Regions from separate parts of the Homo sapiens genome. Here regions 2, 3 and 4 are each linked to region 1. Evidence: promoter capture Hi-C in 16 types of primary human blood cells and fetal thymus (Javierre and others, 2016). All regions are on one chromosome and are shown on one strand. The core of a region is centred on a gene start or on the middle of the fragment in contact, and the rest is flanking DNA. Distances in the headings are between cores, read along the strand shown. Region 1 holds the start of HES4 (hes family bHLH transcription factor 4). Region 2 holds the start of UBE2J2 (ubiquitin conjugating enzyme E2 J2). Region 3 holds the start of ACAP3 (ArfGAP with coiled-coil, ankyrin repeat and PH domains 3). Region 4 holds the start of VWA1 (von Willebrand factor A domain containing 1).

Region 1 (6,938 bases), core at 2,734-5,233:
CTTTCACCTACTATTCAGCAGAAAACCAAAAGCCAAGATAAAAATCGCTGGGGAGGGGCAGGGATGGGGGACCGGGCCAGACCCCAGCTGCTGAGCAGCCGCCACCTGAGGTGGGGAGGGGCAGGAAATGTCTGGAGAGTAGGGAGGGCAGAAAGGACCCCCACGTGAGGGGGCACCCCACATCTGGGGCCACAGGATGCAGGGTGGGGAGGGCAGAAAGGCCCCCCCGCGGGAAGAGGCACCCCACATCTGGGGCCACAGGATGCAGGGTGGGGAGGGCAGAAAGGACCCCCCGCTGGAGGGGGCACCCCACGTCTGGGGCCACAGGATGCAGGGTGGGGAGGACAGAAAGGACCCCCCGCTGGAGGGGGCACCCCACATCTGGGGCCACAGGATGCAGGGTGGGGAGGGCAGAAAGGACCCCCCGCTGGAGGGGGCACCTCACGTCTGGGGCCACAGGATGCAGGGTGGGGAGGACAGAAAGGACCCCCCGCTGGAGGGGGCACCCCACATCTGGGGCCACAGGATGCAGGGTGGGGAGGGCAGAAAGGACCCCCCGCGGGAGGGGGCACCTCACGTCTGGGGCCACAGGATGCAGGGTGGGGAGGGCAGAAAGAACCCCCGCTGGAGGGGGCACCCCACATCTGGGGCCACAGGATGCAGGGTGGGGAGGGCAGAAAGGACCCCCCGCGGGAGGGGGCACCTCACGTCTGGGGCCACAGGATGCAGGGTGGGGAGGGCAGAAAGAACCCCCGCGTGCCTAAGCAGGTTCTGGTGGGCGTCCTGGCTGGGTGTAGGCAGAGGCTGGCTCCCGGAGGCCCGAGGGGGGCTCTGAGAAGGGGGCGGCCTGAGGGGGAGCCCAGGACAGCCCCTATGCTGCCCCCGTCCAGCCCGGCCCCTCAGGCTGTGTTTCCTGAGACCTCGCTAGTCTAACCCAAACCTCCCAGCTCTGTCATTCAAAGGGATGGATTAGGTCCCCGTGGGTCCATTTCCCTGTTTTGGGTGCTGAGGACAGAGCTTCTGGACAGACTCAGCCCTCGCCCTCTGGAGCCCCGTCCAGCTGGGCCCGGATGATGCACCACCCAGCCTGCGGCAGATGGGATGGACGACAAGTTAGGAGGAAACAAGGGGGAAAAGCCAGGGGGCAGGTGGTGTGGAGCACAAAGGAACCCAGACTGCGAAGGGACTGCCCAAGGACTGTGATTCCCCCAGAACCTGAGTGGTCCCTGGGCAGCTATGCAGGGCCCTTTCGCCACAGTGGAGAGGGCATTCAAGGCCAGAGCCTGGTGGAGAGATGCCCTGCCCTCTTGGGACCCACAGCCCGGGTGACTTTGTGGGGTGCCTCTCTTACCCTGAGCTCCTCCCCACACTCCCAGCTTCGCTGCCCCAGGCCCTCCTTCCCCTTCTGCACTGATGCCTTCTCTGAGCAACTCCCCTCCCCCGGCCACGCTGAGCTTCCAGCTGCCCCCAAGAAGACCGTCCCTTCCTGTGCTGCTGAGGAGGCCTCCCTCACGGGGTCTCAAGCTCCCAAGGGGAAGGGGGCCTCCCTCACGGGGTCTCAAGCTCCCAAGGAGAAGGGGGCCTCCCTCATGGGGTCTCAGGCTCCCAAGGGGAAGGGCTACTTTGAGGCTCTCCTGGGACCAGGACCCCCAGAGTAGGACTGCTGGGGGGACCAAGGGTGGGACCCCCAGCCCAATGCTACCCCGCCCAGGGTCACTGGCCTGGCCCTCGGAGCTCAGGGAGGGGGCAGGGCAGCCAGGGGCCAGGGGTGGCCTGGCTTGTTGGGCCTGGGAGGCTCCTACAAGCTGTGCACGGCTGTGTCCTGGAGGGCCCAGGGGGGCTCCTGATGGAGGCACAGACTGGGGCCTGGAGGGCCAGTGCTGGTGGGAGGGCTCGCTCGCCTCCCGTGGGCCCTGGTGAACTCGGCCCCAGTTGGGAAATGGCCCTGGGTGCGGCTCAGGGGGAGACCCTCTGCCTCGGCTGAGTGCCTCGAACTGCGCCGGACCCCCCCGAACGCGGGACCGGGATGGCGACCGCGGCGCTGGTTCAGGGGAACGTCCGGCGCTGCCTGGTAACTCGGTGGTCGACAACGGCACGTGCTCGGGACGATGAGGGAGGAGCCCCCAGTCCTCACCCACTGGGGAGGCGGAACCTCCCTTACCGGGGCAGGGGAGGCTGCGGGCAGGGCCGACGCCCTCGTGAGCGACGTCCTTGGCCCCGGCACTCGGTGTCCACAGCCCAGCTCGGACCCGCGCGCTCCCGCCGGGCGCCCCCCGCACAGACGCCTGGAGGAGGGGTCTGCGGTGGGCACGGGCAGCTCTGCACTTAACAGGAGAACCCAGCGGGGGTCTTCAGGGCCAAGGGCGGCCGCCCTCATCCCAGCGCCGCTCAGGACCGCAGCCTCCGCCTTCCGCGGTCCGGGGACTGGGAGTCGGGAAAGGGGCCTCCGAAAAGTAACTTGCCCGGCGATGCTGCGCGACCGCCTTCCAGCACCGGGAAGATTCTGGGCACTCAGGGACGTTGAGCTTCCCACCTGAGCCTCCGGGGGGACCCCTCACAACCGCCACCGCAGAGCGAGGCAAACCCAACGCGGGGGCAGAGGGCGGGTGCGCATGCGGGGCTGCAGGGATGCGGAGGGGAGGGCGCGGAGCGGAGGGCGCGGAGCGGAGGGGTCGCCCTCAGTCCTCGGTCCCGCCCCCAGCCCGCCCCCCCGGGCCCGCCCGACGCCCCCAGCCACCTGCAGACCGCGGCCCTGGGAGGAGGGCGGGACCCCGGCGCGGCGTGGCTGCGGGGCGCTCCCAAAGTCAACTCTTCACCAAGACAAAGAAAGAAAACTCGTGACGCAGACTCTGGAATAATAAATACGTTTTCTCTGCTACAGTCTCGGCAAAGGCCACGGCCCTAGAACGGGGCGCCGCCTCCGATGCAGTCTCAGGGCCACAGCCTCAGCGCAGCCACGGCCTCCAGGGCCCACCCGGGCCCTGCGGCCCCGCCCTGGGGGCGGCGGGCAGCGCCCGGGTCAGACCCGGCAGCAGCGGCGGCGCGAGCAGAGGGAAGGGGCCGCCGAGCGATGGCAGCAGCGGGCGGCCCGCGTAGACCTCGGGCGCTGGGGCCTCTGCGGGGGCAGCCGGGGACAGCGAGGCCGGGCGGCGGGAGGGTCCCAGCTGGCGCAGGCAGGCTGCCAGGTGGCCCAGCAGGCGGGAGCGCACGTCGGCCGGGACGCCCTCGCAGCCGGCCAGGAAGCGGTTCACCTCCGCCAGACACTCGTGGAAGCCGGCGCGGTACTTGCCCAGAACGGCGGGGTCGGCGCTGAGCGCGGCTGCGGGAGCGACACAGGAGGAGAGGTCGGTGCCGGGTCCCGGGGGTCCCGCGCCCTCCCCCCGCCTCCAAGCCGCCGCCGCCCGCGCCTCACCCGTCACCTGCACGCGACGCAGGCTCCGCAGGTGTCTCACGGTCATCTCCAGGATGTCCGCCTTCTCCAGCTTCGAGTGGCGGGAGCTCTGGGGGCGGGGATAGGCGGGAGGTCCAGGTCAGCTGCGACCCAGACTCCGGGTCTCGGGCCTTCGCCCCCGACTTACCTCTTTTCTGAGGGCGTCCAGGATGAGGGTTTTGAGCTGAGCGAGGCTCTCGTTAATACGCGCTCGGCGCCGCTTCTCCATGACCGGCTTGGAGGACTGCGGGTCGGGCACCGGCTGAGTCCCGCGTCCCTCCCGCCCCCCGGTCGCCCCCCTCACGCCCGGCCGGGACCCCACCTTGCGGTGCTCGGCCGCGCTCCGGGGCTTGTCTGGGGTCCGGCTGGCGCTGGCCGGCGCTCCTGCCATCGGCGAGGCGCTCGGTTTCCCCGGCGTGTCTGCGGCCATGGTGCGCCCCGCGCCTCCCCGTGCCGGGTGGAGCGCGCCGCCACGGACCACGGGCGGGCTGGCGGGCGAGCGGCGAGCGCGCGGCGATCCGAGCCCCTAGGGCGGATCCCGGCTCCAGGCCCGCGCGCGCCTCAGGCCGTTTCCCTATTTAAGGCCTCGCCGCCGCGGGGTGTGTGAACCCGGCTCCGCATTCTTTCCCACACTCGCCCCAGCCAATCGACGGCCGCGCTCCTCCCCCGCTCGCTGTCAGTCACGCCTCGGCTCCGGGCGCGGCCTCCGCGGGCGACAATGGCATGCGGGGCCCCCGCCCGCGCCCCCCTCCGACACCGCTGGGGACAGGGCCGGGTGATCCCGCGCTCCCCGATGCAGCCGGGGCCGAGCAACGCGCCGGGAGGGGCCGCTGGGGGCGAACGGGGCCCGGGACCCCCGGGGCTGGGCGGAGTCTCGGGGCTCACTCTCCCGCCCAGGGGGCCGGGAGCCGGGGCTGGACGGAGCTGGGGCTGTGGCCGCGCGGGAAGTCGGGAAGGAAATTCCCCCAGTGGCGCAGGGTCCGGCGGCGCCGAGGGGTGGGCGAGCCTCGGTCTCGAGCCTCTTGGCTTCCTCCGCCCGTCCCCACTCCGGTCCCGGTTTGGGCCCTGCTCGGTCTCCGAGTTTGATCCGACACCGGCTCGGCCTCCGGGGGTCCCACCCTCAGGTGTGCGGCCTGGAGCACGGAGGGCTGCAGAAAGCCTTGGGAGCGACAGAGCCGGGGGAAGGTCGGCGGCCGGGTCGGCAGGCGGGAGGGCGGAGTCAGCGGACGGCGAAGGGGCGCACGGGTGGCCCCGCAGAGCAGGGCCGGTGATGGCGCGGGCCGGGCCGGACCACGAGGAGCAGAACGTGCGCGTGACGCGAGCGGGCTGGTGACGTCACCAGGCACCCGGGGCGATGACGCAAGCCTGCTGGGATGACGTCATGTGGCCCGTGTCGCCACGTGCTTCCAGGTGACCCGCTGGCGAACTCAGCAGCAGCAAAGTGGGGCTCACAGAAAAATGAGGGGCCACTGTTAATATAACTGCAAAGGGGCAGGTTGCGTAAAACAGGGCTGTGGTTATTTTCGTGTTTGCTGTTTTTATTTCGAATGCCGCTGCGGGGCACGTTGGTCCTTTCCGCACTCGGGGTCCCCGGCGGCCTCACGCGTCCGTGCAGCGGAGGCTTCCTGAGCCCCCTGGAGAGCCTGGCCTGGGCCCGGGTGTGGAGACCCTCCCGGGCTTTCAATCCGGGCAGGAGGCAGATGGCAGACTCAGCAGTCACGTAAGAGAACCGAATTAGGTGGGTGGCCTGGGTGGACAAAAGCCTTCTTGACGCCGGGTGGTCCCAAAGGCTTCTGCGGGGTGGGGGGTCCTCAGGGGGGAAGCCTCAAGGGAGGGCGTGGCATTCCCAGGGTGCGAAGGGGGCGCAGGGACGAGGGAGGTGGGGAGGGGGAGCTGGGCCAGCGAGAACCGGGAGCTTCTGGTCGGGGAGGGAGTCGGGGAACTTTTTGGGGAGCTTTTCTGAGCCAGGGAGTCGGCTGATTGGCAGGTTCGCCCCTGCCCGGGCACCTGGACCCAGGGTTTCTGTGCGGAAGCTTCCCCTCCCCTCGGACCCCACGTCTAATCTGGCCCCAAGCAAAGTCCTGCGGCCCACGCGGGAAGGCGCCCTCTTCGCGGCGCTGACCCCGGCCCTCCGCGGTGCCCCTGAGGCGCCCCCCACACCCCGCCGCTTGCACAGGGGCGCGGGGGGCTGCGAGGCCGGAGCGGGGGTGGCGCCCTCTCCGCCGAGAGGCTGTCCGCGCCCCTCGCCGACTGGGGAAAGCCGCGGGGGCTGGGCGGGCGTCTCGGAGGTGGCCCCGCGAGCACTTAAGCCCCGGCTCTCCTGCCCCGACCTCTCTGCGCGCGCCTCGGCGCTGGAGAGGCTCGGACCGGCCCCGTAGCCCAGGAGGTGGTGTGGATGGTGTCCCCGTCCCGCGTCCCTCCCCGGCCTGAGCGCTGGGCCCGGGCGGGAAAGCCCGCGAGCGCCCCCAGTGGCCGCAGTCGCCGCCGCCTCCTGCTGGGGGTCATCCCAGGGGAGCTGCCGGCCTGAATCTCCCCAGCCCCTGGGCCCCGGCTTGGGAAGAAATTTGGGGGGGCTCTGGGCCTCCCCCAGTCCCTAGACAGGCAGGGAGTTCGGGATGGAAGGAGGAGCCTGAGGATCGTTTTTATTTATTTTTTTTTTGTAGAGATGGGGATCTCCCTATGTTGCCCAGGCTGGTCTCGAACTCCTGGCCCGAGACGATGCTCCTGCCTCGGCCTCCCAACGTGCTGGGACTACAGGCGTGAGTCTCCTCCCTGCCAAGCGTGGCTGGGACTGATCATTCCCTCACTGGTTTTTAGATGGGCTCACTTCCCCTCCTTGTACCTGTTTTCTCATCTGTAAAAGGGAGCTAACTTTTTTTTTTTTTTTTTTTTGAGGCAGCGTCTCGCTCTGTTGCCCAGGCTGGAGTGCAGTGGCACCACAACCTTTGCCTCCCGGGTTCAAGCGATTCTCCTGCCTCAGCCTCCCAAGTAGCTGGGATTACAAGCATGTACCACCACGCCCGGCTAGTGTTTTGTATTTTTAGTAGAGATGGGGTTTCACTGTGTTGGCCAGGCTGGTCTTAATAGGAGATTCTACTTTTTTTTTTTCTTTTTTGAGACGGAGTTTCACTCTTGTCGCTCAGGCTGGAGTGCAGTGGCACGATCTGGGCTCACCACAACCTCTGCTTCCTGTATTCAAGCGATTCTCCTGCCTCAGCCTCTGGAGTAGCTGGGATTACAGGCGTGTGCCGCCACACCTGGCTAATTTTTGTATTTTTAGTAGAGATGTAGTTTCTCCATGTTGGTCAGGCTGGTCTCAAACTCCCCACCTCAGGTGATCCACGCACCTCAGCCTCCCAAAGTGCTGGGATTACAGGTGTGAGCCACCGTGCCTGGCCAGGAGATTCTACTTTTAAAGCCACTGACGGCGTCCAACTCATAGTGAGCACCCACGCCCATCTGCCAGGGTTCCTGCCCCTGGGCAGCAGCTGGGGTCCTTGCTGAGCAG
Region 2 (6,584 bases), core at 2,894-5,393, 270 kb after region 1:
ACCTCGGCCTCCCAAAGTGCTGGGATTACAGGCGTGAGTCCCCGCGCCCAGCCATGGCCACACGATTTAATAACGTCTGTGGACATCAGTGGCCATCGATAACGGACAGTGACCAGTGATCTCCATCCTGACCTCCCAGTTCCCACAAACCGGAAGTCTACTCTACCCAGTTTCCTTGCTGATATGCTTTGGCTATGTCCCCACCCAAATCTTATATTGACTTGTAATCCCCATAATCCCCCATGTTGAGGGAGGGACCTTGTGGGAGGTGACTGGATCATGGGAGCAGTTTCCCCAAGCCGTTCCAGTGAAAGCGAGTTCTCAGGAGATCTGATGGTTTATAAGGCAGTGTTCCCTGCTCTTGCCCGCTCTCTCTAGCCTGCTGCCATGTGAGACATGCCTCTTCCCCTTCCGCCATGATTGTAAGTTTCCTGAGGCCTCCCTGGCCACACGGAACTGTGAGTCCATTAAACCCCTTTTCTTTATAAATTACTGAGTCTCGGGTACATCTTTATAGCAGCATGAGAACCAACTCATACACCTGTAGACAGCCACACATTCCACCTCCTTTCAGTCTCCACCTGCAAGAGATCTACAGACTTGGCCTCTCTAACCGGTTTATTCCTCCTCAGAGAACCACCACCAGCAGCCTGTTTAGTGTCTGCTCCCAACCTGAGGATGTCAATGGCCAGGGCTTGGCTGCTCACCCCACACACCCAGGGCCTGGAGTGCAGAGCTCAGCCAGGGCACCCAACGCGTGCTCCCAAATGTGTGGCCTCAGCACCACCCCCAACCCTGCTTCTTGTTCTGGGGTCCCTGACTCTTGCAATCCTTGTTCACCACAGCCTTCCCACTCTCATTATCTTCTCTAACGCAAAATGTCATCACTTCTCCCATCAACACCACAGGAGCCTCCCAACTCCCCCCGTGGGTCCAGAAGGTCTGAGCTTCTAGTCTCTTCCCATTTCAAGGCCCTCCTGTACCCATAAGTCAACATACTGTTCCGATCACCCACTCCCCCATCCACCCTTCAGGATACTCCACAGCCAAGCAAATAAACATCAACACGTCCTCTTGCCTGCCAGCCCCTTGACAGAGGCAGCCCCAGCCAGCCCTCCTCATTCCCAGCTCCCAAGACAGAGCAGCCCCAGCCAGCCCTCCTCGTTCCCAACTCCCAAGACCCAGCACGGCCCAGGTCCCACTCCAAAGTCCTGACCGACACACTCCTTCTCACAGCTGCTTCCCAGCCTAGCCTGTACTGGAAACTCCCCAGGCCCTTCCCGGCATAGCCAGAGCCACCGCCTTCAGAGGCCTCCCTGATTTCCCTGCCAAATGCCTCCCACTCTGTCACACATCACTGGCCTCCATGTGACCCCACACACAACGCAGGGCCCTTCTGGGCCCCAGCGGGTTCCTCTGCCTAAGGAGTGCCTCCCCAGGAGGGCCCCCACCAGGGATGGGGTTACAGTCCTGCCTGGGAAGGAAGTGCTTCCACACAGTGGCATCCCCAGCTCCTGGCTAAAGAAGCCAATGGGCCAGGGATCTCCCCTCAGGCCAACACCTGGTGATGGCCACAGTGATGACCCCAAGCAGCACCGCCACACAGGCTGTCCTTTCGACACTCACCCTGAAGCTAACACTCTGCCATATACAAAATAATTCACTGGACAATTCAAGTGCAGGTGGGTCTGGGCTTAGCTAAGTGGCCAGGCCGCAGGTTTAACGAAAGTTCATGGACAGCCGCGCAAAAATAAAATAGATTCCATCCAATGAGTCACAAACAAGCTTCTCTCCCATACCTGCTTGGAGAGGCTTTTAAAATCATGTTCACGATTCAACTGCTGTTTCCCCAGCCACTCTTCCTGAGCTTCACACAGAACAGCATTCTCACGTCCCCCAGGAGGCCAGGGGGCTATTTCCCCCAATTCTTCTCATCCCAATATGACAGCAGGAAGGACAAGGAAAACAAAAATTCACAAAGGGGCTGGGCGTGGTGGCTCACACCTGTAATCCCAACACTTTGGGAGGCCCAGGCAGGCAGATTACCTGAGATCGGGGGTTCGAGACCAGCCTGACCAACATGGTAAAACCCCGTCTCTACTAAAAATACAAAATTAATCAGGCATGGTGGCATGTGCCTGTAATCCCAGCTACTCGGGTGACTGAGGCAGGAGAATCACTTGAATCCAGGAGGTGGAGGCTGTGGTGGGCCAAGATCAAGCCATTGCACTCCAGCCTGGGCAACAAGAGCGAAACTCCGTCTCAAAAAAAAAAAAAAAAAAAAAAAAAAAAAATTAGCCGGGTGTGGTGGTGGGCACCTGCAATCCCAGCTACTCTGGAGGCTGAGGTGGGAGAATTACTTGAACTCGGGAGCCGGAGGCTGTAGTGAACTGAGATCATGTCACTGCACTCTAGCTGGGCCAACAGAGACCCTGTATCAAAAAAAAAAAATTCCACAAAGGAAGCAAACTGTGAGAACAGAGTTTGAAGCATATGTGCCTCGGGTTCCCTTCAAACATCCCCACAGACAAAGGACACCAAGCATATCATCCTGCTGAGAGAAAGAGTTGGCGATTTTAAAACAAAAAGGCACAGGAAAAAAAAATGTTCACACACAGAAACTGCATTAAAGCAGCGTGAATCACCGAGGGCAGCTGTGCCCAGGTGCTGAGGCAGTGGCTGCCCAGCGTCCCTCACCCGTCCCTCTTTGTCTGGACAGCTCTTTCCTGCTTAGGGGATGTGGCAGGAAACCTTGGCCTGACCCATCGGCCAGGCGCATGGCACACCCAGGTCCAGGACTGCCAGGGAAGTCTCTGCCTTCTCCACCAGACTGCTCCGGAGGCTGGACGGAAGCCCGGGCCGATGGAAATGGGACACTCACCTGCGACTCACACATGCACCTGCCTGGGTCACCTGCCTGTCACTCATCCACGCACCTACCTGCCTGGCTCACCTGCCTGTCACTCAAGCACTCACCTACCTGCCTGGCTCACCTGCCTGTCACTCACGCACATCCCTGCCGAGAGTGGAACTGCTAAGGAGGTCAGCGGTGCCAGGCCGTGCAGATGACGGACTGCAAGTTCCGGGCACCCAGACCCAACCACGCCCTAGGCTCAGGTGCTAGACTAAGCGAGATACTCACGATCCTTTCTTCGGAAGCCAGATTACACAGTCTGGTTCCCCTGGAGCAGGGCGCGGGGCCACCGACCTGCCCCAGCCAAGCCCGCTGTACACTCTTCGCTGCCCACCTCCCACCGGGCTGAGGCCCGACCTTTCAGCCGCTTCCTATCTGGGTCTGGCAAGAGGATGGCAACCGGACTAGAGTTAAATACACACGCACTAAGTGGCAGGCACTGAAAAGGACGCCAGGAGGTGACACCTGGCCAGGGGCTGAAAGGATGCAGGGAACTGGCAGGTGTGGATGGCGAGGCCCGGCGCCGCTTAGAGACTTGTTCCGGGCTCGTGTCTCACTCGCCGGCCGGCGGTGGTCTCCCACTGTCACCGCCCGGGTTTCCCAGAAACGCTGGCCCTAAGCACAGTCCCGGGCACGCTCGTTTCTCTCGGGGTTTACGGGGCAGTCTGGAGTCTAACAGTTCAGGGGCGAGGCGACGGCGGGCTCGACGGCAGCCCTCCCCCGACACAGACTCCCGTGATCCACTGACGAACCAGGATCGAGGCTGCCCGTCCTGGGGCAGCTGCAAGTGTCCCAGCTGACGGGAAACCCGGCCGAGTGGTCAAGTCCCCGACATGACCCTGACCCGGAGCTCCGGGAGCCCGCCGTAACCGACCTCGGGTTCCGCGCAGGCAGGCTCGGGCCGGGGCCCCGCGGGCGGCGGGCGCGAACGGAGAAGCGTCGCGCAGGGTCCCCAGCAGCCCCGGGCCGCCGCTGTGGCCGGCTCCGGCAGGGGGGACGAGCGGGCCCGAGGACCCGGCGCAGGCCTGCGAGCGCGCTCACCTCTCCCTGTCGCTGCGCGTGGGCCGCCGCCGCGCTCAGGCTCGCCGTAGTCGAGGCCGGAGCAGGGTGCGGAAAAGCGGGGCCCGCGCCCGAAACAGCCGCACCGCCCCGGGATTGGGCCCACCGAACCCGCCGCAGCGCCGCCGCCGCCGCCTCAGCCTCCAAGATGGCCGCTCGCGGGGCGGAACCAGCCTAGCTTCTGCTTCCGGTGCGCGGTCCGGGGCGGTGAGGAGGGAGGGGGAGGGCTGGCCGCTCTAGGCAGACTGGCGGACCGCGCCCACGACTCTCTGTCGCCGTCGACCCCGGGGTGGGGGATGGGGCGGGGGGCGGGGCGGCGCTTGCGCACTGGCGGGCGGCTCCGGGCACCGTTAGTGGGCGCGAGAGCCCCAGACCCCGAAGCCGCGCGCTTCCCTCCCCATGTGCCACGGCCCAGGGCGGCAGGCCCGGCTGAGGGCGACCCCGGTGGAGAAAGAACCCCGACCCTCCCGCCTCCCGGCTCCCGCCTTGTCCTCCGCTCCCACGCCCCACCCGGCCCTTAGGGGAGGCGCGGCGCGGCCCGGGCATGGAGCGTCCCGGGCCCCTGGAGGCTCAGTGGAGGGTTGGGCTCCAGGGAGCTCAGAGCTCTCTCGTTCAGGGACCCGAGAGTGACACGCGTGGCATCTCTTTGCAACCCACGTCCGCGCCGCAGCACCCTCCCCTGCAGGTGCCTGCCCAGCCCCGGGATGCCCCTGACCTCCCCTTGGACAGACTGCAGAAAGCGCGGGGCGCTGCGTCCTCTCCACCTCTCTCTGACCCCAGACACATTGGGAGAGAGCGGTAGGTGGCGGGGCGCTGGGGTGGGACGCTGGGGGCAGGCGCGCAGCCCACCGCCTCCCTGAGAGGCCGCTGAGGACAGCGGGGAGCTGAGGGTGGTCCCCTGGTGGGGGATCAGGAGGTGGACCTCGCCACCTGGCTGCCTGTGGCCCTCTCCTTTGCCCCAACCCTGACTGCCTCTCAGGAACAACCACAGGTCAGCAAGGTGGCTGAATATTGAGGGTCAGTCCCGCTGTGGCTACGGGCAGAGGGCAGGCTGTGTCCATGCTCAGCCCTGACTCTGGCCCTCTGGGACACCTTGGTGGGTCTGAGACGTTGCTGCAGGCCGTGGGGCAGAAGCCAGGAGGAGTGTCCACGCAGCCTCAGCCCGTGGGAATCCAGCCTGCCTCCATTACTGCCGTCACCGGCTCCACCTTCGGAGAACATCTCAGCATCCAGCCTCCTTCCTCTGCCTCCTCTCAGGCCTCTGCCGTTCCCATGCAGGGCAGGCCAAACTGTTTTCACAGCATGGAAAGTTATGTGAGGGAAGCCACACCGGCCGCAGATACAGGCACCAGCACATCCACTCGCATGCACACTCACGGCTGTGGCCCGCGGCAGATGGAGGCCCGCTCTGCCTTGTCTGTCCCTCAGTAGTGTGCGATGACAGCACACCTGTGGGGGCCCTGCAGCTGGGAAGACTGCAGCGAGGCTCAACTCAGAGGCCCCTGCTCAGGAGCATGGCTGAGTCACACCCCAGGGAGAAGGTGCCCCGGACAGGTGTGGCCAGCACGTCTTGCCAAGACCCCACCACCCCACCCACCCGCATCTGTGGCCTTCTGGTAAGCAGGACACAGGCTGCCCAGGCCTCTAGCCATAGAGCCGATGGCCTTGGCCAGTGGGATCGGCACAAGCAGCTAGGTTGGTGGCAGATGGTGGCTGTAACCTTCTCAACCCTGAGATTGCCCTCTGAGGGCAGGAGCAGCCCTTCTGCTGTGGGCCAGCCCTCCGGAGGGACTTCCTCTGGCAGCTTCAGGAATAGGACAACAGGGACCACCCTCAGCATCTTGAGCAGCGGGGGGCACCCTCTGCTTTGGCAACCAAGAAAACATCCCCCAACCCAGTTACCACCTCCTGCCCCCACCTCCTCCAGCCCCCAGGGTTGGACCAGAAAGCCTTGGCTGCCTCTGAACAGCAGGGATTGTCTGGCCAGGGGATGCTTGAGGGACAGAGAACCCAGCCTGGAGGGTGCAAACTGAGGAAGGTCTCAGTCCCTTTAGAAAGTTTGTTTTGCCAAGGTTAAGGACACACCCATGACATCTCGGGAGGTGCCCAAGGTGCATGTGGCACAGCTCGCTTTTATACATTTTAGGGAGACATGATTTATTTACACGGGTTCAATCTGAAAGAGCAGGATAAATTGGGGTGGTGTGGGGAGACCTCTATGTTATAGGCAGATTCAAAATGATCCTGACCGACAGTGGTTGAAAGAGTTATTATCAATAGAAAGGAATGTCTGGGTTGCAGTAAGGGGTTGTGGTTTTCCACGCAGCTGAAGCCTCGGGTTGCCGGCTTCAGAGAGAATAGATTGTTAATGTTTCCTATCAGACTTAAGGCCTGTGTTGATGTTAATGCTAGTCAGCTTTTCCTGAATTTCAAAAGGGAGGAGGCATGACCCACGACCCCTTCCCGCCATGGCCTGAACAAGTTCCCAGGTTAACACTGGAACGCCCTTGGCTGAGAGGAAGGGTCCATTTGGACGGCTGGGGGGGCCTTAGAATTTAATTTTTGGTTTACATTCACCCCCTTCTGGCCAAGATTTGCCAGAGGCAACATC
Region 3 (6,537 bases), core at 3,811-6,310, 310 kb after region 1:
GCTCGGTTCCAGGCCAGGCACAGCCCACAGGTGGCAGGGAGGCCGCGCTCACCATGTGGTAGTTCACCACCTCCTGTAGGCTGTCAGCGAACCTCTGCAGACATTCCTGGAGGAGCAGATGGGAACCCGTGCTGAGATGGCAAATCCGGGCCCAGGTCACCCAGCCACGCCCTCTGAGCCCCTGGGCGGTGCAGACACCGGCCTGCTTCTGGCCTGGACGCCCTCAAGGGGCTGCCTCCCTCGGCCTCTCCCCCAACCCCACCTTGAGGTCAGAGGTCAGTCGGCCCCTCACCGAGATGACGGTGTCGCCCTGGCACTGCTGGGACAGGTCGCGGACGCCGCTCACGAAAAGCCTGCTGGTGCTGACGTAGGCCTTACCGGCTTCCACCATGCCACTGCACAGCTTCACCAGCTGTGGGCCAGCGGGGCGTGGTGAGCACAGTGGGCACTGGCGCCTGCACTCGCCACCACACACGGCCACTCAGAGGCAGGAAGAGCTCCCAGGGTAGGTTCCACTCAGGGCGTTGGCACTCAGGACTCAGTGCCCCGGTGCAGCTTCCTCACGCCTGGGCCTGCCTGGGGCTTGGAGGCCCGTCTGGGAGGGGAGGGTGGGGCCGCCACGGCTCGGCTGGGAGGGACCAGGAGCCAGGCAGGGGACCCAGGGCCAGCAGGACCAGCAGAACCAGCCCATGTGGGGCTCATGGATAAGGCTGCCCACTCCCAGCTCCACGGCCTGTTGCCCCCTCCTCTTTCTCAGCCCATGTGGGGCTCATGGACACGGCTCCCCTCTCCACGGCCTGTTGCCCCCTCTTTCTCAGCCCATGTGGGGCTCATGGACACGGCTCCCCCCTCCACGGCCTGTTGCCCCCTCCCCTTTCTCAGCCCCAGCCCCAGCCACACCAAGGCTCAGCCCACACAGCAGCTGTCCCCGTGTCACCAGCCCAGCAGAGGGGACGGGCAGCCACCGTGGGTCGGGGACTCACCACAGCCCAGCCCCTCCCAGATGGGACGAGACTCAGGGCCAGCCACATGTGTGCATGTGACATGTGCACCCTGGAACACACATGCTAAGACACAGGGACCAGGACCTGGAGCACCACACGCATGCTCCACATATGGGGGGTGTAAGTGGCTTAGTAAGGCCTGGAGGGCGAGTCTGGCCATGTGGCCATCCCAAGCTTGGCCGGGCACAGGGCGCTCCAGGCCCGCCCTTCACCTTGTCCAGTTTGGCCTCAATCTCCACCACGTCCGTCTCCACCTCGTCAATGGTCGCCCTAAAGCAAGAACGGGGCTGGCTGGGGTCACCTGCAGCCTCAGCCCCCTCGGGGCTTCACCTCCCCCCGCACCTCCCTGAGGGGCTCCACCATGGGAAGGGGCTTTCAGGAAACAGGCTGGGAGACAGACGCCTGCCTGCTACGGGGGCAGGACTGGGACCAGGTTCAGTGCACTTCCCCCCGCCCCCCCAACCCCAGGCAGGCAGAGGCAGCCGCTGCTGTGCCCTCGGGGAAGAAGGCTGGACCAGCCTCTCCCAGGACAGCCGGCCGCTGGGAGTCCCTCAGGGACAGTGCCCACCAAGGGCTGAGCCAGCCTCACCCGCCTCTCCTCTAGGAGTTCAGAGTCAACCCTGGACCCATCTGGAGCCCCTCAACCCTGCGGCACCTCCCCTCACCCCACTGCACTACTGCAGCCCATCCAGGTCTGGCACCCATGCACTGTGGGACAGGGTGGGGGCAGTAGGGCAGCTGCTCTCGGTCCTGGCAGCACCAGGAGGACCCAGACCAGCTGGGGAGAGACGCCCCCGGCTCCCCCAACCTCACAGCTGCAAGCGGCATGGTCCGCTGGAAAGACGGGTAGGCCATCCTCCTCAGAGCCCACTCCCACCAGGACAGCCTGACAGTGGGGCTGCCTGGGGAGAGAAGAGTTAAGGCATGACATCACCAGAGAAGCCTCGGCGGGAGAATCCCCGGAAGACAGGAGGCAGATGGATCGGGCACGTGACCACCCCCTCCGGGAGCAGGCAACAGGGAAACAGGGCCAGGATCCCGGCAGCCCTCCACACAATCGGCTCACTGGCTGTCCGGGCCATCTGGCCTCCTGGGGATTGGGCACCACAGGGCCCGGGCTGGGGCCAGGACTCCAGGTCTAGGGCAGGGGTCCAGGAGCAGAGGCCATCAGGGCCTACAGTCCCTCGTACCTTGCTACCCTGACCGGTGTCCCAGGCCTCGGGGGAGGGGCCTGTGGTTTACATGGGGCGTGTCCTCAATTAGGAGCTGGAGCTGCAGGCACCAGGCTGCCCCAGCCAGGGACCTTGAAGGGTCCCAGCCACCCCAGAAGGACACTAGGTCCTCTCTGAGCAGCCCTCTCTTGTTCCCAAGGGGCTAAGAGGACTCTGAATCCCGAAGCAGGGGGCGATGGAGGGAATCTCGCTGTGGTGTCCGCTGACCGCCAGTGCCCAGCCTGCAGCCCCTGGACCCTGACCTCTACCTCAGCTGGAGGATCCCAGAACAGAGAAGGGACCATCCTCCCAGGAGAAGGCAGCAGAGAGCGCCACACCCCAGGAGTTGCAGCCACCCCTGAGCAGGGCCGGATGCAGAGACAGCTGCACCCAGAGCTGCCGCCCTCGGGTTTGGGGCGCCCGTGTCCCTGGAGAGCCAGCAAGGGGGGATGGCTGCACCCAGGAGCTCACGGACGTGCTCATGGGGACAGGGTGGGCCCTGGCAGAGGCCCCGAGAGCCGCTCCCACTGCTGGGAGCCCCTCAGCTCTCCCTTCCTCAGTCCTGGGGACCTAGGCCTCCTCTGCTGTGCTCAGCCCAGGATTTCCTCAGCAGCTTGGAGGACGGGGAGGAGGGTGAGGCTGCCCCCCAACCAAAGCCATGACTCAGCGCCTGAAGCCCCACCCAGGGGAGGGGCACACTGAACAGAGGCCAGGCGGTTCCCCTACACGGGCTCCCCTGGCCTCCGGCCCACTGCACCTGGGCTGCCACTAGGCCCTCCCCAGACCAGGAGGGTGCGGGCAGGGTCCCCCTCTCCCGGGCTGGGGCGACCAGGCTCCACGTTACAGACCACATCTTCCCGCCCACCCTGCCTGGCCCCCCAACCTGGCGGTAGGCCAGGAAACTCAAGTTACGCCCTTAGGGCCTGCCCCCAGGACAGCCTCAGGGAGCCCCTCGAACCCCAGTTAAATCACAGCCTAACCCCAAAACCCACTGGGCCAGGCCATTCTCATCTCCCCACTCCAGTCCATGCCCCACAGGGGTGAGGCACTTTCCCAGGGCAGTCACTCTACGGCACCTACTGCAGCCCCACAGCCCCCATAACTGGCTCCTGTAACAGGCTCCCATGAGAGCCGGTTACCAGAGAGAAGGCCCAGAGGTGAGTGGGTTCCAGCACCCCCACACGACTGGAAGAGGGCAGTACAGGGCCGTCTGCGTGGAGGAGGAGGTCCATTAGGCTTCTGACGGAGGGGCCAGGGAGAAGGTGGGTGCTTCAGCCAGGGTCCAGCCCCCAGCAGGGAGGCCATGCCCACACCTCCCCACAGCCCGGGTCCTCAATGCAGGATCCTAGGGTGCTCAAGTTATTCAACCCCTTTTCCCAGGTCAGCAACAGAAGATGGGAGAGCAGAGGATGGCCCCAGTTCCTCTGCCCAGGGCTGGCGGCCACTCTCCTGGCTGGCCCTGAGCCTCCCACTCCAAGGCTCCTGAGCCTCCTGGTGAGGGCTCCAGGGATACAGAGGCTCCCCGTGCCTCCACACACATGCTGACTTGCCAGCAGATCCCAAGAGACCCAGCGCGCGCGTGCACACCCACACATACACAATCAAGCACACATGTGCAAACATGTTCATGCACAAACATGCCTGCACACACTGGTACCACACATACATGTGTGTTCAAGGAGACACTGCACAGACACGCATCAACATGTGTACCTAGTGATGGAACACGCGTGTACAAGGTGATGTGTCTATTGCTGACATGGCTAACACAGTACGTGAACCCACACAGACAGGTGGTGTGTGCACACGCTTGCGTGCACTCATCGGCAGGCTACATGCAGAAGCAAGCACAGCCCCGTGGCACAGCTCATCCACACGTCCTGTGCAAGGCCTGGTGTCCGGAGGGAGGCACGCAGAGGGGCAAAGTTCACAAGAGCGCACCCCGCACGAGCTCGTGCAGAGGAGGGGGCCTCACGCAGGTGCGCACTTGGGGATGCAGAGAGGTTTCTTTGCCTCCATTGTCGTTTGCCAAATGTCCACCAAGCAAAGCCGATGCACACTTGTGCACACGTCTGTGAACATGTAGTTCACGCAGGTGTACACGCCTGCACGCCACGAATGATGGAAAACATGCAGACTCGGTGTGCACACAACCCCTACCCCCTACCTGACCTTCCCCGCCGCTCTTCTCGGCCGCCACCCCTCCAAGCCCCTGGGTCATTCAAACCACTTCACGTTTCCAAGCACCCTACCCCAGGCCTTAAACGCGGCTCCAGCTGCCTGTTCCCCACGCGCTGCTCTGGACACAGGATCAAGTCAGAGACCAGGGGCCGACGCCCCCACGGACCCAGACGACCCTGGCCAGAGCTGGACTGCAGGGCCCGGGAGGGGCTCAGCCCAGTGGAGGTGCAGACACAGAGCGGGGGCGGACGGTCCCGAGGTGCCCACGGCTGCCCACGCGCACGCCCTCCACCCGGGGCGGCCGCACAGGGCAGGAGCGTCTTTTGTTCCAACCCCCGGGGCATGGCGGGGCGGGGCCGCCGCTTTGTCCGAGGCCGGTCCTCCAGCCCCTCCCCGGCGGCCGCGGCCCGGCCCGGCGCTGACCTCCCCACCCCGCCGCCGGGCACAAAGGCGACAGCGACGCCCCCGGCCTGCGCCCACCCCGGCGGCCCCGGGCGGCGCACCTGAAGCGCGGGGAGTCCTTGACGCACTCCTCGAACTCCACGGTCATGGCTGCGGCGGCCGCGGCGCTCACTGGCACGAGGACCGCGGCGCCGAGCGGCAGCCGCGCCGGCCCGGACCGCTCGTCCCGCCCGCGCCGCCTCGGCGCCCGCCCGCCCCGGAATGAGGCCGCCGCGCCGCGCCCCGCCCCGCCTGTCACCGCCGGGGAGCGTCGCCAAAGTCAGCCGCCCGCGCGCACCGCCCGCTGTCACTGCCGGGGAGCGTCGCCAAGGTCCGCCGCCCGCGCGCGCCGCCCGCTGTCACCGCCGGGGAGCGTCGCCAAACGCCTCTCGCAGCGTCCAGGGACCACCCCGGTCCGGAAGTGAGGCGGGGCCTGCCACGGCCGTCTCCGGGGACAGTCGGTGGAAATGTGGGGCGCGGGGAGGGCGCGGGGAGGGCGCGGGCCCGCCCGCTCCAACCATCCCGGCCGTTGCGCAACTCAGGGCGTTTGCAAAAACCACGTCTGGGAGGACTTGGCCGCAACGCGGCGAACGGGCGCGCTCGGGGAGTGTGGGCGGCGGCGAATGAATGAGCGAGTGAACGAATGCACGCCCGCGAGAGCGCGGGGTGACCGCGTGGTTGGTGCGCGCCTCCCGGGGCGCCGCGATAGAGGTAGAGCGCCTGCGCTCGGCGGCGGGCCGGCACTTTGCAGCCGCTCCCTAAGCCCGGCCCCGCCTCCGCTCCCCGACTCTGGCCGCCGTGGCGCGGTGCCACCGCGCAGGCGCAAGAGCGGCCGGGGCCGGGGGGGAGGGGGGGGGGGCGTGACCAGGCCGCGTCCGCGCGCGCGCAGGATTCCTGCGCTGGAGGCCGCCTCTGACGCCACCGGCTGGGCTCCGCCATGAGTTCGGCGCCGGCCTCAGGCTCCGTGCGCGCGCGCTATCTTGTGTACTTCCAGTACGTGGGCACCGACTTTAAGTAGGTTTCCCAGGCGCAGCGGCGGGCGCCACGTGGGCCCGGGCGGAGGCGGGAAGGAGGGCGCGGGCGGGCAGGCGGATGTCTCTGGACGCGGGTTCCAAACGTTCGGGGAAGGAAGCGGCCCTGGCCTCAGACGGCGGCGGAGACCCCAGGGCAGGGCGCCCCCGGTAACCTCCGCCCGCTTCTGCCCGCAGCGGGGTCGCGGCCGTCAGGGGCACTCAGCGCGCCGTCGGGGTCCAGAACTACCTGGAGGTGCGCTCAGCCGGTCACGGGACGCCCGGTGAGGGGTAAGGGGGAGGCTCCCGCCCGCGCGTCCCCGGGGTCCGGCCTCGCTCACCCGCCCGCCCCGCGGCTCGGTCCTGCAGGAGGCCGCCGAGCGGCTGAATTCCGTGGAGCCGGTCAGGTTCACCATCTCCAGCCGCACGGACGCCGGGGTCCACGCCCTGAGCAACGCGGCGCACCTGGACGTCCAGCGCCGCTCAGGCCGGCCGCCCTTCCCGCCCGAGGTCCTGGCCGAGGCCCTCAACACACACCTGCGGCACCCGGCCATCAGGTGAGCCCGCGACCTAAGCAGCCCTGGGGCTGTGCCTTCCCGACTCCATCTGTCGCGGGCGGAGGCTGGAGATCTGGACAGACTTCCTTGTCTGGTCGGAGCTCGAGGGGGAAGGAGAGCCAATGTGACACCG
Region 4 (7,217 bases), core at 2,989-5,488, 440 kb after region 1:
CCTGGGTCCCCAGGCCCGCCCCCACCCTGAGGGTGCCTCTACACCCCTTCCCCCAGAGCCCCTTCCCCCAGCCTGAGGGCCAGGAGCAGCCTCCCTCTTCCTGCAGTCTCTACCACAGCTCTCCACTGGCCCAGGGGCCTGAACTCCTTGGGTGCAGCCGAGCTGCAGGGTGGCTGTGGGGACCTCTGCTTGGCGTTCTTTCCCGGTGGCTGAGGCCCCTGCCCTGCCCAAATGGGAGCCCGGAGTGTGTGTGTGTGGCTGTGTGTGTCCCATCTGCGTCCCTGTCACACGTCATGCCGGAGCAGGGGAGGCAGTAAGGGGCCCCACCCCACTGGATGCAGTGGGCTTCCCACCTTGCCCGGTGTCATTTCCTGATTTGCAAAATATTTCCTGGGAGCAGAGTTGTTGGCAAGCACAGCCTCAGACGGTGTGAGCAGCTGGGGGACCCCTCAGATGTGGCTCCCTCTGTCCCTCCGGCCTGTGCTGGCCTGCCCCTGCCCCCAGGCCTGTAAGCTGGGCAGGCTGTGGGGCAGGAACTCCCCAGGGTGAGTGGGCTGGTCTGAGGGCTAAGGCCCCTGCTCCCAGCTCCGCCCCACCCGCCTCTGGGAGTCCCTTGTGGTGTGTGGACATAGGTCAGTCCCTCCCTGCTGCCTCCTCCCTATCCCAGTCCAGGCCCCTGGGAGTTTTGCGTCTGCCCAGGGCTGTGGCCTGGGCCTGTCTGGACTGTGTCTGGGGAAGGGGCAGCATGTGGTCCTCCTCTCCCTTTCAGGGAAGGATGTCCCAGCAGAGAGGCAAAGTGAGGGGACCCACACAAGGAAGGGGCCCTGCTATTAGGAAACCCTGGGTCATTCAGGCCTGCTGCTCTCCGGCTCCCACCGGGCCGGGCTCTGTCCTCGCTGTGACGAACCTCCTGCCCCTGTCGAGGCCGGCAACACCCTCCACCCGGCCACCCCTCCCGAAGGCCCCCAGCCTGCTCTGCCCCTGCAGTCCTGGCGCAGGCCCCTCCTGCCCACCCCACCCTGCTCTCAGCACTCGCGGTTCCTTCTCTCTGCCTGGAAGGCTCTTCCTCGGGTACCCCTTGCGTGCGAGTCCCCAGTGACCCCCTGTTCTCACAGGGAAAACAAGTAGACCGTATCTTTCCTAGCTGTTCACCGCCCACCCTCCTAGCCTGGCAGTGCTGGCCCGGCGCCTGTGTGTCCCCAGCACTGAGGCTGGGGCGCGGCTGTGCCCAGCACACAGACGAGGGATGGATGGACAGACGCAGATGGTGCAGCTCCCACCCCTACCCAGGCTGCTACCCGCCAGGTGTCTACCCGCCACCCCAGCTGCTGCTGGCACGGGGGACTGAGGGGGGTCAGCTCTGGGGCCAGAGGGGCAGGCCTGGGCTCCTGGGAAGTGAAAAGTGACCCCCGAGGCCCCCAAGACCTGTCCTTGACCCCAGTGAGCAGGTTGAGTCTAGGAGCTGCGTGGGCCCTGCTCTCTTGGTGACCCCTGCTCTGCCCCACTTACTGTTGTGGGGTGGGCTCAGGCACACCCCAGAGCAGTGCCTCAGGCCCGCACCGCTGCCCCTCACCGCCGCTGCCCCTCACCGCCGCTGCCCCTCACCACTGCTGCCCCTCACCGCCCCGTCCATCTGCTCCTGTGTGTGCTTGAGTACGTTTGTGAGATACGTGAAAACAGCAACAAAAGGCGCCGGGTGCGGGCCTGGGCGTCCTGCCCTCAGCTCGGGTCAGGGGTGGGGTCAGAGGCCTCAGGAGTTGCCCTTTTACCCAGGGTCAAACATGACCACAGCCAGCTGGGGACAAAAGGCCCTTCATCTTCTGCAGAAGCCTGGATTGTGCGGAGGAGGGAGCATTCCCAAAGGCGGGTGGGGGCAGGGGCGGTGCCCGGGTGACAGCAGCCTCCCCAGCTTCCTGGAACTCTCTCCACCTGCCTGCAGACAGACCGGCAGGGCAGGCTGGCTCCGGGAAGTGAGGCACAGGGACTCCCACAGCCCAGGCCCAGACCGTGGGGGCGGGGTGGCCGCAGCCAAACCAGGCTGCTCCCCACCCCATGGGGCCCCAGGCCACCAGGATCAGACAGGGGCTGTGCCTGCAGGAGGCAGAGGGCTCGGGGCCAGCACCCACTGTGATCTGGCCTGACCCGTCCTTGCCTCTGCCTCTTACCCCGGGCCCTTCTCCCTGGAGAGTGGAGGGTTCCGGCTGTTATATTTGTGCTTCCTCCGGTGTCTGCCTCAAGTCCGGCCCGGGCCCTGACACTGCACCTCTGGCTGACCCCATGCTCTCTGGGACCCTCTGTCCACGTCCCTCCTCCGGGGTGGAGACAGCGGGGGGAGGGCAGGACACAAGAATGAGTCCTGAAGACTGAGGGGCACGGGGAGAGCTGATGGGGAGGGTCTCCTAGCTGGAGGGACTCCAGGCAGAGCCGGGAGCAAGGCAGGTGGCTGAGCTCGGCCCAGGCTGGGTGGAGGCCAGGCCTCCTGTGCCTTCTCCCGCTGATGGCGAGCTGAAGGGAGGAGGGCGGCCGCTTCCTTGAGGGCCTGAGTCACAGCCAAGAAGACCCGCTCACTTTTTCCAGAAGTGAGGGAAACTTCCCCGTCAGCCCTGCAAGGCTGGCTGAGGTGTGACTGTGGCCCGCCTGCTGGGCGAGGGTGGGGGACAAGCGGGCCACTGGCTGTGAGCCTCCCCAGGGTGGGGGACCCTCGGCCCAGCTCCCTGCCTGACTACCTGGACGTGCCTCCGCAGGGTCTGCAGCCAGCTTCCGGTCAGACCCCAGGTCCTCCAGCGGCTGCGGCCTTCAGCGTCATCTCCACGGCAGCCCCTGTGTACTGGGGGCTGGGGGGCCTGGCGAGGCCCCTCGAAGTGGTACAGCTTGCACTCTGGGGACCCAAAGTCCCCCCACCGGGCCCAGGCGGAAGCACCAGGCATTTCTGGTCCCAGCCGAGGTCTGAGGTCTGTGGAGCGCAGCCAGCACCTCCACTGCCAAGATCCCCGGCAGGGGGGGTGGGGGGCGCCGGCGGGGACACAGCTCTCCCTTGTTCCTGCCGCCAGCTCCTCAGCCTCAGCCTGCTGCTTCCTTTTTTAGGCAAAGTCGAGTGCTGGCCGTCCGCACGGCCCCGCGGTGTCTCACCTGCCTGAAAGGGAGGAAGGAAGCCTGTGGAGCCCCATCCGTTCTCCCGCGGCGCATCCTCCAGGAGAGGGTGGGGAAGGAGGAGACATCCTGGCAGACACCCCCCCACGTCCCCCACCTCCCAGCTCTGAGCTGAGGAGGCCCTGGAAGAGGGCCATGGCTACTCCGAGGGAGGGCCGGGGTAGGGTTCTCCTGTCCAGGGGACACTGCTGGCCCAGCCCCACCCAAGCAGGGGAAATCTGCCCTGGGAGCCACTGTCCCTCAGGACGCCCCCTGCAACCAGCCACCTCTCGTCTGGGCCTCACCAAGACCCCAAGACTCAAGAGCTCCTGTCTCACCAGTGGGACCCTCCAGTCCTGCTGGGGGTGTGTCCTGGGTCCTGGAGTCTGGGCCCCTCACTGGGTAGGGTATATGGGTAACAGGCCCAGTGTGGTCCCACTGGACAGGGCCTCAACCAACCATCTCCCACTCCCATGCCTCTTCCTCCAAGAAGCCCAGGTGGCGTGGGTGCTTCGAGTCTCTCTCGAATTCCTGTCTTCTGTCCCCTTTCAAGCCACTGTGTCCTTGTAAGTTCCACCCCATGGTCCTTCCCATCCCTGCTGGTCAGTCCCTGGGATACATGTCCTGTTACTCCAGACACCTATCCGCCTCCAGCGCGGAGGCCAAGGCGAAACCACGGTCTGGACGTGTTTTTTTGGTGCCACCGCCAGCCCCTGGGGTTCTCTTGGGCCTGGCTGCTGGGACCCCAGCACCCAGAGTCACGGCAGTGGTGGGCATGGGGAGGGCCTAGCCTGGTACCTCCCTGCTCGGCTCCCGCGGCTGGGGGTCGGAGAGGGGTGGAGAGCGTGGGCCGCACAGCCTCGGCCGGGAGAGGGAGACTGGAGTGTGTGTGTGTGCGTGCCTGCGCGTGCGTGCCTCGGTCGTATCTCGGCTGGTGCTGCGTGTCCCTGCGTGTCGGGGTCCGCTCGTGCGCGCCTCTCCGGGGTCTGTGCGCGTGGCCCTCCGCTCGCGCCGGAGGGCGTGGGCGTGGCCTCGGCGTGGGTGTGGCCGCTCGGGGAGGGGCCTCCCGGGGGCGGGGCCGGCCTGGTCCGCGCGGTGACGCGCCCTGCAGCCCCGAGCGAGCGAGCGAGCGAGCGAGTTGCCGAGCGCGCCCCGTCCCTCGCGCGCGATGCTCCCCTGGACGGCGCTCGGCCTGGCCCTGAGCTTGCGGCTGGCGCTGGCGCGGAGCGGCGCGGAGCGCGGTGAGTGCGGCGGGCGGCCGGGCCGGGGCTGGGGCTTCTGGTGACCGCTCTGCGCCGCTGCCCGCGCAAGGCCGTCGCTGTCCCCTGCTCCGGACGGGCGGGCGGGCTGGGAGGCTGCGGGAGCCGGGCGGGGGCGCGGGCGGAGCGTCCTGCTCACCTGAGGCTGGCGGCCCAGGTGCTCCAGGCGACACCGTCCGTGAGCGCCGGGGCATAGGGGCCGTCCCGGCCCGCATCTCTGCGGGATCGCGGGCCTGGACAGGAAGAGGGAGATGTCTGTCAAGGGGGCACCCCTGCCTCAGTTTCCCTACCCTTGCGAGGGCCCTTAGTGGAGGGATGGTAGGGAAGTTGGAGTCGCCCCACCGCACTGGGGAAAACCGCAAGGCCGGGACTAGAATTGAGGCACGCTGGTGCCCTGGCTTGGTGGGGAGGGGCGGTGTAGGGGGCATCAGCCTCCACCCCGGAGGTGCCCGGAGGAAGGGGGAAGCCTGCGAGGGGCTGTTCCGGCTTTCAGGCTGCTGGGGGTTATATCTTGTTGTGTGAGTCCAGGTGGGCTGGAGGATGGAGGCCAGGGGAGGGGCCACCATCTAGTAAGCGGGGTCTGGGCTCCAGCCAGGCCATCCGGCGTGGTCATTGCTGTGCCTCCGACACCTTCCCCTGCTGCTGTGTGCATGCCCAGGGTGCCTCACCTGCAGGCTGAGCTGCGTGGCTGAACTCCAGCCTCAGGCTGCTCCTCTGAAAGCCATGCCTGGAGGGAACAGCCCCACGGCTCAGGCCTGTCCTGGGGGCCTAGGCCAGGACTCTTGGCTCCACCTGCTTGCAGGGTCTGTGAGGAATGGGAAGGTGTGGGGGCTTGGAGCGGAGAGTCGCCCTCTCACAGATGGGATAACACAAGCCCAGAGAGAGCCCTAGATCCCATGGCCAGTGTGCAGTGAAACCCCCAAAAGTACAGGCCTCTTGCTTAGAGTTCCTCTTTCCCCCAACCTAGGACCTTTGGGAGAAGGCAAGCATCCACTTAAGGAAAGCTGGGGCCCTGGGGGACCCTGCCTTGCTGTGGGGCTGTCTGGGGGGCCCACACCTGAGGCTGAGCATTCCTCCTTTCCCCCAGGTCCACCAGCATCAGCCCCCCGAGGGGACCTGATGTTCCTGCTGGACAGCTCAGCCAGCGTCTCTCACTACGAGTTCTCCCGGGTTCGGGAGTTTGTGGGGCAGCTGGTGGCTCCACTGCCCCTGGGCACCGGGGCCCTGCGTGCCAGTCTGGTGCACGTGGGCAGTCGGCCATACACCGAGTTCCCCTTCGGCCAGCACAGCTCGGGTGAGGCTGCCCAGGATGCGGTGCGTGCTTCTGCCCAGCGCATGGGTGACACCCACACTGGCCTGGCGCTGGTCTATGCCAAGGAACAGCTGTTTGCTGAAGCATCAGGTGCCCGGCCAGGGGTGCCCAAAGTGCTGGTGTGGGTGACAGATGGCGGCTCCAGCGACCCTGTGGGCCCCCCCATGCAGGAGCTCAAGGACCTGGGCGTCACCGTGTTCATTGTCAGCACCGGCCGAGGCAACTTCCTGGAGCTGTCAGCCGCTGCCTCAGCCCCTGCCGAGAAGCACCTGCACTTTGTGGACGTGGATGACCTGCACATCATTGTCCAAGAGCTGAGGGGCTCCATTCTCGGTATGCGGGAGGAGGCAGGGCCCAGGGAGCCCTAGCTGGGAGCCGCAGAAGGAGAGGCTGGGTTGAGACTTTGGGAAGATCTCATGTCCCCAGAGCAGCGGCCAGGGCCTCCGGGGCTGTGGTACCCCTAGGGTGCAGGGCTGAGTGATGCAGCTTGTCTATGCACACTCTTCACTGGGCGACCCGTGTACCCTGCTGAGACGGGGGCAGGCTTGAGTAGCCACCTCCAGGTGTAGCTCCCTGCTGATGTGTCCAGCCCAGACCTCGAGGCCCCAGGGAGTGCAGAGCCCGGGTGTAGGCCCAGGAAGAAGCTTCCAAGTCTGGGGACTCTGCAGATGGGCAGCATGTGCTCCTGAGCATGCCCACCATACCTGGAGAGGGGTGAGCCAGAAAGGTCAGGGACTGCCCCCCCAGAGAGCACAGGGCACCTCTCCTGGGTGGGGACAGCCGCCGAGGGCTTTGAACTAGTTCGGACTGCAGGCCCACTGTGAGGGTTTCCTGAGAGGCCGGACCAGGGAAGGCCTGAGGCAGGAGCTGAGCAGCTCCCATTGGCTTTTTTTCTGGACCTCCCTGCCCCAGCCAAGCCCTGAAGGAGCTGGGGCTGGAGATGAGGAACCGGCCACTGGCTCAGCCTGCTGCAGCCACTGAAAAATGCCAACCCTGGGGATCTCACCAAGTCTCCGTCTGTGGGTTAATCATCCACCCAGAGCCGGAAGGGGTTGGACTGTGGGTTGGAGAGGGGTGGACGGCCCTCCCCAAGGTTTCCCCAGGGACGTCTGGCCCCTAGTGGCCCCAGGTCACCCAGTGCAGCTGCGCCTGGAGGGGACCAGGAGGAAAGGCTGCCTTAAGCAGCCAAAGGAAAAGCCTGAGGCTGCAGTGCCGAGGGGCCAGGCAGCAGGGTGGGGGCTCCTGGGAAAGAGGCCGGGTCTGAGGGTGGGGGATGGGAAGAAAGTGGCCCAGGCACCCAGCACTGCAGGAGGAAGATCCTGATAGCTTTAACCCAGCGCAGACATTTATGAGCCTCGCCACAGCAGGGTCACTCAGAGGGCTATGTGGGGCTTGGTGTCACAGGTCCAGGAGTCCCCCTCTGGAGAACCCCACCCCACACTCTCCTGGGGACCCAGGGCAGGCAGCGCCTCCAGAACCCCAGGGCCTGCCCCTGTGGTCTCCCATCTCCTAGCTGC

What was found. Contacts are between HindIII fragments. The CHiCAGO score rates a contact against its expected background, and 5 or more counts as called.
Region 2: a contact is called between the fragment with the promoter of UBE2J2 here and the fragment with the promoter of HES4 in region 1, in 15 of 17 cell types (M2 macrophages, naive B cells, M1 macrophages and 12 more). The highest score is 10.8, in M2 macrophages.
Region 3: a contact is called between the fragment with the promoter of ACAP3 here and the fragment with the promoter of HES4 in region 1, in 4 of 17 cell types (endothelial precursors, erythroblasts, M0 macrophages and 1 more). The highest score is 7.5, in endothelial precursors.
Region 4: a contact is called between the fragment with the promoter of VWA1 here and the fragment with the promoter of HES4 in region 1, in 1 of 17 cell types (naive B cells). The highest score is 6.0, in naive B cells.

What each region holds. Positions count from the first base shown.
Region 1 is chr1:996,114-1,003,051 of GRCh38, forward strand. HES4 (hes family bHLH transcription factor 4) reads right to left here and starts at 3,984. Exons shown (of 4, transcript NM_021170.4): 1 at 3,753-3,984; 2 at 3,579-3,674; 3 at 3,413-3,500; 4 at 2,851-3,319. The coding sequence starts at 3,860. The coding sequence ends at 2,946. RefSeq lists silencers at 2,950-3,259, 3,810-3,949, 4,020-4,399, 4,500-4,549, 5,627-5,976 and an enhancer at 6,027-6,166. The HindIII fragment of the contact is 9,560 bases long and covers 1-5,461 here.
Region 2 is chr1:1,269,711-1,276,294 of GRCh38, forward strand. It overlaps UBE2J2 (ubiquitin conjugating enzyme E2 J2), which reads right to left and starts at 4,144. Exons shown (of 7, transcript NM_058167.3): 1 at 3,956-4,144. LINC01786 (long intergenic non-protein coding RNA 1786) reads left to right here and starts at 4,292. Exons shown (of 3, transcript NR_185846.1): 1 at 4,292-4,771; 2 at 5,093-5,589. RefSeq lists enhancers at 2,276-2,784, 2,785-3,291, 3,292-3,799, 4,990-5,628 and silencers at 3,989-4,568, 4,729-4,778. The HindIII fragment of the contact is 5,565 bases long and covers 1,784-6,584 here.
Region 3 is chr1:1,302,870-1,309,406 of GRCh38, forward strand. ACAP3 (ArfGAP with coiled-coil, ankyrin repeat and PH domains 3) reads right to left here and starts at 5,061. Exons shown (of 24, transcript NM_030649.3): 1 at 4,900-5,061; 2 at 1,217-1,274; 3 at 293-412; 4 at 53-106. The coding sequence starts at 4,946. PUSL1 (pseudouridine synthase like 1) reads left to right here and starts at 5,728. Exons shown (of 8, transcript NM_153339.3): 1 at 5,728-5,851; 2 at 6,046-6,103; 3 at 6,217-6,404. The coding sequence starts at 5,775. SNORD167 (small nucleolar RNA, C/D box 167) reads right to left here and starts at 1,943; the gene lies at 1,860-1,943. RefSeq lists enhancers at 1-103, 104-704, 705-1,304, 1,305-1,905 and silencers at 4,610-4,829, 4,880-5,049, 5,090-5,769, 5,990-6,059, 6,090-6,229 and 2 more. The HindIII fragment of the contact is 38,674 bases long and covers 1,177-6,537 here.
Region 4 is chr1:1,431,452-1,438,668 of GRCh38, forward strand. It overlaps VWA1 (von Willebrand factor A domain containing 1), which reads left to right and starts at 4,239. Exons shown (of 3, transcript NM_022834.5): 1 at 4,239-4,370; 2 at 5,476-6,033. The coding sequence starts at 4,298. LOC107985729 reads left to right here and starts at 1,782. Exons shown (of 4, transcript XM_017003066.2): 1 at 1,782-1,837; 2 at 2,512-2,620; 3 at 2,745-2,951; 4 at 3,085-4,098. The coding sequence starts at 1,782. The coding sequence ends at 3,699. LINC01770 (long intergenic non-protein coding RNA 1770) reads right to left here and starts at 3,122. Exons shown (of 2, transcript NR_125996.1): 1 at 2,737-3,122. RefSeq lists enhancers at 918-1,661, 3,150-3,893, 3,153-3,212 and silencers at 2,998-3,292, 4,039-4,408, 4,167-4,356. The HindIII fragment of the contact is 8,860 bases long and covers 1-6,342 here.